2 separate regions of the Homo sapiens genome follow, and region 1 is linked to region 2. Evidence: promoter capture Hi-C in 16 types of primary human blood cells and fetal thymus (Javierre and others, 2016). All regions are on one chromosome and are shown on one strand. The core of a region is centred on a gene start or on the middle of the fragment in contact, and the rest is flanking DNA. Distances in the headings are between cores, read along the strand shown.

Region 1 (4,158 bases), core at 414-2,913, 520 kb after region 2:
GTGCCACTGCACTCCAGCCTGGGTGACAGAGCAAGACTTCGTCTCAAAAACTAAACAAAACAAAAGCATGATGATACTTATAACAACAATTCCTTAAATTTCTATAATACTCTTTTATTCCAATATATAAACCAATTTTTTAAAAGAGAAAAACAGATTACAACTTTCTCTTCTAAGTCAGGAAGCTCTAGAAAAACTTAATGATTTTTAAGAAGTAGCAATGTTTCATAAACAAGGAGGAGACCAACTCGAGAAATAATTCAGCAATAATAAGGGCCCTTAGGAAAGGGTGAGAGATGGTACTGAGTCAGAGATTCCAGGGTTTCTGACTATTACCACTTCTAGAGTTGCAATAGATTTGGTTTAGGCCTTTAAGTTATGGTGCATTTTATTTGTAAATAATATTTAACAGTGATGCTGCTAAATAGCAGCATAAAAATGTGGCAAGATCCTCATAATTCACAGGTTTTGCTGTTGTGGTAACATGAAAGTGAAAACAAAAGCATACTGTTCTACAACTGCACAGCTTCCTTTTCCTGTTCTCAGGGCAGTAGATGTCAATTGAATGCTCAGACACCAACAAGAACAGAAAATTCAACACACAGATGTTGCCACTGACTTGTGATGCTCACCAAACACTCATAACTTAGAGGAAGTACTTTTTTTCTTTCACTGGTTTGAATTCACCAACTTGATTATCAAATAATGCAGCAGTTTCATTATTTTCATCACTGGGATTTCTTTTCCTGACCTCACTTGTTGATTGCACTCATCTATATATAACTTAGGCCTCCCCTGAACACGGAGAAAGACACACGGCACCTGCTGTCCAGCCAGAAGTTATTTTAAGCTATTCTAAAATGAGTCATGCCGTTTAGCACTTCATCCTTGAAAATCAAGAGAATCGTTTTTCAGTCAAATTGAAAACAGTAAACATTTAGTGGCTTAAATCCATACATGGGTTTTAAAGTCGGGGAGACTATCTTAGGATGAAATAAAATCTCAAGTAAAATGAACTTCAAAATAATTAATTTAAGATAAGCTGTCCATAGGAGTTTTACTTCGGTTAGTCTAAATGCAAGTGGCTGTTTGTATTTGATTTATTCTTCATGAGATGCCACAATCATTGATTTTTTAAATTCTTAATTCCATGGCTATTCTTTAAACTCCTGTTCCACATTTACTTTAAAACAGAACAGTCATTATAAAGCCCAGGACAATTCAATTCCCAAAAGTAGCCTCAAGACAAGTTAACAAGAGGGAAAAAAACAAAGTCAGAGAACTTTGTTACTTTTCAATCATCCATTTTATATTATGTGGCAAAGAAATTATTTCTAACTTTTATCTTATATAAACTTTATTGCCTTATTTTCCCCTCCCCAGGGAGAGAACTTTTCACTTGTGTTGGCTATTCCAGATGACTATCACAGACACATCCCTCCCTAAGCAACACATTTTATTTATAAATACAACAATGAAAAGTTCTCCAACAGTTCACTGGCAATCTCAAAGTTGCAAGTTTCGAACACCACAAACCGCACCCTATACCTTCTCACAGGGCTTGGGGGAGTGTTTGTCATACTTACCAGAAGGCAAGAAGCTAAGCAAGAAGAGAGAGGAGAGGAAGGAGGCAGGAAAAAGCAAGTCAGAGCTGCAGCAACAGCAGGAGAGGGCGGGCTGGCTGTGTTCTTACAAGGGAGAGAGAAACCCAATACACACACACACACATACACACGTGCACGCACGCGCGCGCACACACACACACACACACACACGCCACAGGCACTGATGGAGGCAGCAGTCTGGAGGAGGTGGGGGTAGGGAAAGGAACATCATATGACACAGCAAGGGGAAAATACACCCAAGCTTCCCTAGCTGTTGCCAGGGGAAATACCTTAGCAGAGAGAAGCAGCTGGAAGATCTCATTAGACTCTCCATGTTTTGTTTGTCCTTTCGGAAATTTAAACTCTGAGTATATTACCCCCGTTGCAAATGCAGTCTTTCACCATTGTTGTCCTTTTTGGGTAGAGATCAGTTTTTCTTACTTCTTGGGTTATCTCCAGTGTGGTGGAAGATTCATCTTCTTTTTCTTCTTCTTCTTGCACTAGCTTAATTAGTGTCAGGTTTCTTACAGGAATCATGGAAAAAGAAAAACAATGGCATAAGAACAGGGAGGTGGTGGAACCATTTTAATTCTGATGTCATTGTTTGGTTTGTTTGCAAAGTTTGAAATAAACATGTAGATGGTGATTTTGGAGCTGAACTGAGTATAATCTTCATGCACGTGGTAATTGGTGTGACCTTGGAGCACAGTCTTTCCCAGGTAACTCTTCCCATCTCAAACAAACCCTCAGGGAAGCAGTCTGCTTTTTCTTCCTTAGTTGGTGGCTTTCCCACATTTTGTAAATCCTCAACATGCTCCTTGATCCTCCTCAGAAAAAGAAATTCCTTCTGATTCACCATAAAATGCCTGTCTATTAATTTACATCCATTTGCCTTTTATTTTTCTTTCTGGAGCTTGTGTTCCCATACTTCCAAAGCAGATTCCTCCATCGGTTTCTGCTCTGGGGACAGGCTAGGCATAGTGGCATCCCTTGTGGGAGGCAGAATAATGCCACCCAAAAGATCTCCACGTCCTACTCCCTGGAACCTGTGAATATGTTTCTTTACATGACAAAAGAGACTTTGCAGATGTGAGGAAGGATCCTGAGGTAGGGAGGTTATCTTGAACTACTGGGTGGGTTCAATGTAATCATAAGGGTATTTATTTATTTATTTATTGAGACAGAGTCTCGCTCTGTCACTCAGGCTGGAGTGCAGTGGTGCAATCTCAGCTCACTGCAACCTCCCGGGTTCAAGCGATTCTCCTCCCTCAGCCTCCCAAGTAGCTGGGATTACAGGCGCCTGCCACCACATCCAGCTAATTTTTGTATTTTTAGTAGAGACGGGGTTTCGCTGTGTTGGCTAGGCTGGTCTCGAACTCCTGACCTCATGATCCGCCCACCTCGGCCTCCCAAAGTGCTGGGATTATAAGCGTGAGCCATTGCACTCAGCCTCATAAGGGTCTTTATAAATGAGGGAGGAAGGCAGTAGGATTGGAGGCAGAAAAGGAGATTTGATGACCTCAGCATAGGTCAGGAAGCTTCTAGAAGCTGGGAAAGGCAAGGAAACAGATTATACTCTAGAGCCTCCAGAGGGATGCAATCCTGCGACATTGATCTTAGATCAAAGAAATTCGTTTTGGATTTCCGACCTCCAGAAATATAAAATAGCAAACTTATGTTATTTTTAAGCTGCTAAATTTGTGATAAGATGTTATGGCAACAAAAGGAAATGAAAACATCCCACCCCCAGTTTTGTCCTACTTATTCTCTGAGTTTAGGGGAGGCATAAGTTATATATAGATGAGTGCACCCAACAAGCAGAAGTCAGGATAAAGAAATTCCAGTGTTGAAGACAATGAAGCTGTTCACTATATTATTTGATAATTAAGTTAGTGAATTAAAATTGATGAAAGAGAAAAGCACTTTCTTCTAAATTAATGAATACTTGGTGAGTGCCACAAATTGGGTGGCATTCCATCCTGGATTGTAGCAAACTGACCCGATCACATCTCTTAGTAAATATAAACAAGTCAGTGCTTTTCAAATTTAAATAATGTATAGACTCACTTAACAGAATAATTTAAATAATGTGGAAATTATTTGAAGGATTATATTATTATTTGAACCTACATGTACTAAAATGAAAATAGGATAAATTCCTTATGCTTACAGTAGTTACATAAATTTTAAAATGTATACATTTTAAAGCCTACAAAATCAATAAATGCGACTCAAATTAATAACACTACTTTTATGTGACAGATATTGTTTTGCTGAACTTAAATTGCTGCTTGCAACATGAATACTCTATTGACTGCTGGGTTTTTTGAGTTTCTGGTACTCTTCTACAATGTGGTTTGGGAATTTCCTCAACACTTGATTCATTCAAATTATTACATAGTTTTTATTCATATGGCCTGCTATGATTTCATGGGGCTCTCATTTGATACGGCTGCATCATTTACTGCTTGCTATGGTCTGAATGTTTGTGTCCCCCCAAAATTCATGTGTTGAAATCATAAACCCCCAGGTGATGGTATGAGGAGGTGGGGCC
Region 2 (4,200 bases), core at 1,271-3,770:
CCGTATGTTCTATTCAAGAATGCTTCTTTTCTTCTCCTTCTCCTTCTTATTTTTTTTTTATTTTTTTGAGACAGGGTCTCATTTTGTAACCCAGGCTGGAGCACAGTGACATGATCATGGCTAACTGCAGCCTTGACCTCCTGGGTTCAGGTGATCCTCCCACTTCAGCCACTCAAGCAGCTGGGACTACAGGCCTGCATCACCATGCCCAGCTAATTTTTGTATTTCTTGTAAAGACAGGGTTTTGCTATGTTGCCTAGGCTGGTCTCCAGCTCTTAGGTTCAAGCTATTTGTCTGCCTCAGCCTCCCAAAGTGCTGGATTACAGGCAAAAGCCACCGTGCCTGGCACTCAAGGACTCATTTTCCTCAGATCATTCCATGGCTGGCTCATGCACTTTATTCATATCTCTACCTCAAAGCTGCATTTTCGGGAAGGCCTTCCCTGATACTTCTCCTTCAGTACAAACTACTTTTGACCTTAAGCTGTTATTTCAGGACTCTCATCTGACTAAATGAAACTATTTTATTTGCATACTAATTTATTGTCAGTCTCTTATATCGGGAATATAAGATCTCTGACTATAAAGCTCTTGTACCTTTTGTTGATAGATGCATCCTGACCTCCTATCACAGGGTGTGGCTAAAATAGGGACTTAAAATAGGTATTCAAAACCTGAATACCTATTTCTGAATACCTGAAACATGTCCATTTAGAAGGGTACTTTCCTGTGTCCCTACATCATGTTGGAGGTTGTAAACACAAATGCTACAGGGCTCAGATGGGTACTAAAGACAAAGAAAAACTAGATATTACTTGAACTGAGGTAAAGGAGGCAGATGCTTTCCAGCTTGAACCATTGTTGCCAGGCTACAATGCACATCTAACGTAGTCAGATCTTCCCGTTAATTCATGGGATGCCACATTGTTTTTATTCTTTCAATTTTAGCTGTTAGCAACCAATTTGAAAAAAAAAAAAGTAGCATGTGAATCACCAGTTGCAAGCTCTGTTCATACAAATAAGACAATTCGACATTAATTAAAAGGAGAAACTGGGAAAAGATATTGAGCAGACTGTACAGTAGTGTTTGTAATGGTGAAAAATGGGAAACAACCTAAACATCCATCACTATGGGAATTCCCAAATAATTTGTGACAAATCTATTTGATAAAGTCTAGCTATATTTATCAATGTGGATAGCTCTCAAAAACACAGAATTTGGTGAAAAAATCAAGTTGCAGATCAATACACAAAATATAATAGCATTCATGTAAAACTTCAAATGCCCCAAACCATTCTACATATTGTTTATAATACATAGTAATAGTTTAAATATAGAAACCTAGATTGGCAAGATACATATCAAATTCATGATCCTGGTTGCCTCTCTGAGGGTGGTAGTAGAATGGGACTGAGAATAGGGAACACCTTCTTTATCTGTAATGCTCCATTTCTTTCATTCATAAATCTGTTCGTTCTGGATAGTGGGTGCGTTGTTTATTCTGTGCTTTTTTTTTTTAACATTTCAATAGTTTTGTTTTTTTTTTTTAAATGGCGGGTGGCGGAAGAACATCCTATCCTAGAAGCCAAGAGACTGGGGTTGTCTTTGCTCTGCCTTTTCTGGCATGGATACAATCTCTAGATATGGTTTCCCCATTAGCTAATGCGGGGGGTGCTATGTGGTGTTCCTCCAGAGTCCCTTCAATCTAAGGACCTGTGAATCTAAAACCTTCCCACCTCCCACTCCAACACCGGGAAGGCTACCCAGACCAGGCAATGAAACGTGCATTTCTTCCCTCATTTAAGATAGATCTCTTTCTCTCAGCCTGCAATTCCTTCTCCAGAGGCTTTAAGTATAGTGGAAGTAGAACTATCTTTGACGACAGAGAGACACCTGCATCAATTAGCCTTTCTGAGCCTCAAATTCCCCATTTGTAAAACAGAGAGTATAACACCTACCCATAAAATTGTAGAGAGGTTTAGATACACCGTTATGTGTAGGGCCCGAACAGAGTAGCTATTAATAGTGGTAACAGACTCTCAATTAGGGGCTCAACATCATGGTCGCTGAACAGAATCACGGTCGCTGAACAGAATCACACTCTTCACGCCGCCTTGGAGCCAAAATTAGTTTAGCCGCGAGAAGTCCGGGCAACCAATCGGAAACAACCAAGGAACAGTTGCATGGCGACACTCTGGTTCCGCCTTCGGGCATGCTCGAACAGCATTCTGGGAATTGTAGTTCGGGGGGGGAATCTAACACTCACCGAGGGGCGGAGTAGCTTCCGGAAAGGGTACTGCATTTCCCGTTTCTACCTCCACTGCACCCGCTTATTGCGTCTTGCTCCTGGGTCACAGAGCCTAAAACGACACACCCAACACGCCCGCCGGAGTTACAGCTAAAGGAAGGACAGGGGAAGCAATGAAATGCCGAGGGCGGAGCCAAGAGCGACACTGGGGGAGCAGGAAAAGGCGGGGCTTCCGCTTGGGGCATGGAGGCTGTACCTCTTACGTCACTTCCGTAAACAAACGGAGCTGCGGAGGAGCGGGTCCCGGGATGTGACCGGGGCTCTGCTTGTGGCTGCGGCGGTGGCTTCTGAGGCTGTCGGGTCTTTGCGGGTTGCGGAAGGGGGCCCCAATACCCTTCTTCTTCAGGTATGTAGTGGAAGCAAAGGAACCTCCGCAACCTGCCCCTTTAGGCCCTTCCCACCACTCTGGTCACTGCTGGGTACTGGGCGGTGAAGGGTCATCGCTTCGGTAGATTGGGGAAGGGGAATGAGGTGATGTCAAGAGGGATGCCCAGTGGTACTGCTTGGAGGCAAGACCTGGCACTTAAAACCACTGTGTGAATAAGTAACTATGAGCAGTTTACTTATTATGCCTTCTCTAAAACATTCTTTGCTGTTTGATATACAGGAAGGGTTTCAGTGCTCTTGTGACAGATGTAATTTTCCAAAAACGAGGAAATCGCGAGTGCTGGCTCCGCAGAATATTGTGGTTTAGACCACCACTGGTTTATTTGCATTGCTTTACTTCCTAGATTTTTTTTTCTTGTACCACCAAGTGTGTATTAGCATCGTTAAATTTCAGGCCAGCGTGTTTATGCGTATCATACATTTTTACAGATCCTTGCCTCTTCAGAGAACTAATCGTCTCTATTCAGTCATCTTTCAAACTCTCATTTAATTTGTGTTGCATGTTGAAACAACACCAGAATTATTGTTCTGTTACAAAAAATGCTTCTTAAAAGAAAAATTGTTAGCCAAGGTTTAAGTGGATTGACACCCAGTGGTATCTGGGATTAGAGACTGGGCATTGGAGCCTTTCCCAGAAAGCCTCTTCTTTGGCAGTATTGTAGCTCCAGTTGTAATTGTCTAGCGTCAGCCAATTTAAGCTCAGTGGTTTAAATTCCAGTGCCAGTGGCACTAAGTCCAGGCAAAAGGAAAAAGAAAAATTTATTGAATTCATCAAATAATTATTTTAAGCGACAGCAATGGGTTTGAATCTTTTTGAATGGTCATGGCATGCCTAAATTAAACACAGCATGCCAAAAACGGCCTAATGTTTCTAGAAGGCAATTTACAACCTGATGAGGTAGAGATAGCCATATAAATTCATCTTATGATATATGAAATAATGAAGTTAAGAAAAATTTAACACTATGCACAAATAAAGTATGGAAGGGGTTTTTTTGTTTTGTTTTGTTTTGTTTTGTTTTGTTTTTGAGACGGAGTCTCGCTCTGTCGCAGTGGCACCATCTCGGCTCAGGGCAAGCTCCGCCTCCCGGGTTCATGCCATTGTCCTGCCTCAGCCTCCTGAGTAGCTGGGACTACAGGCGCCCGCCACCACTCCCGGCTAATTTTTTGTATTTTTAGTAGAGACGGGGTTTCACCGTGTTAGCCAGGATGGTCTCGATCTCCTGACCTCGTGATCCGCCCGCCTTGGCCTTCCAAAGTGCTGGGATTACAGGCGTGAGCCCGGCCGGAAGGGTATTTTTTAAATAGATGGATGTTAGAAAATAGAGCGGATTAATAGATAAAGTAAGGGGATTGTGTAGGGATAACTAGGAGGCCTTACACGTATTCCGCATGGAAGGGCCATCTGTAACTTCACATTGTTAACTTTTTTGATATGGGCAAAACTAAATATATATCATAAAATTCACGTTTGTTTGGAAATGGTTAGAGAAAGTATATTCAAA

Evidence for each region. The method cuts DNA at HindIII sites, captures the fragments that hold promoters and counts their contacts. A CHiCAGO score of 5 or more calls a contact.
Region 1: a contact is called between the fragment with the promoter of TXLNB here and the fragment with the promoter of CCDC28A in region 2, in 3 of 17 cell types (fetal thymus, naive CD8 T cells and total CD8 T cells). The highest score is 7.4, in fetal thymus.

The regions. Positions count from the first base shown.
Region 1 is chr6:139,290,335-139,294,492 of GRCh38, forward strand. It overlaps TXLNB (taxilin beta), which reads right to left and starts at 1,664. Exons shown (of 10, transcript NM_153235.4): 1 at 1,587-1,664. All of the region lies in intron 4 of LOC102723690 (a long non-coding RNA gene), which reads left to right. RefSeq lists enhancers at 379-438, 639-888 and a silencer at 498-792. The HindIII fragment of the contact is 5,007 bases long and covers 1-1,864 here.
Region 2 is chr6:138,771,249-138,775,448 of GRCh38, forward strand. It overlaps CCDC28A (coiled-coil domain containing 28A), which reads left to right and starts at 2,521. Exons shown (of 6, transcript NM_015439.3): 1 at 2,521-2,654. It overlaps CCDC28A-AS1 (CCDC28A antisense RNA 1), which reads right to left and starts at 2,455. Exons shown (of 3, transcript NR_161205.1): 1 at 2,267-2,455. RefSeq lists enhancers at 1,572-2,246, 2,247-2,920, 2,284-2,333, 2,354-2,413, 2,774-2,833. The HindIII fragment of the contact is 8,118 bases long and covers 1-4,200 here.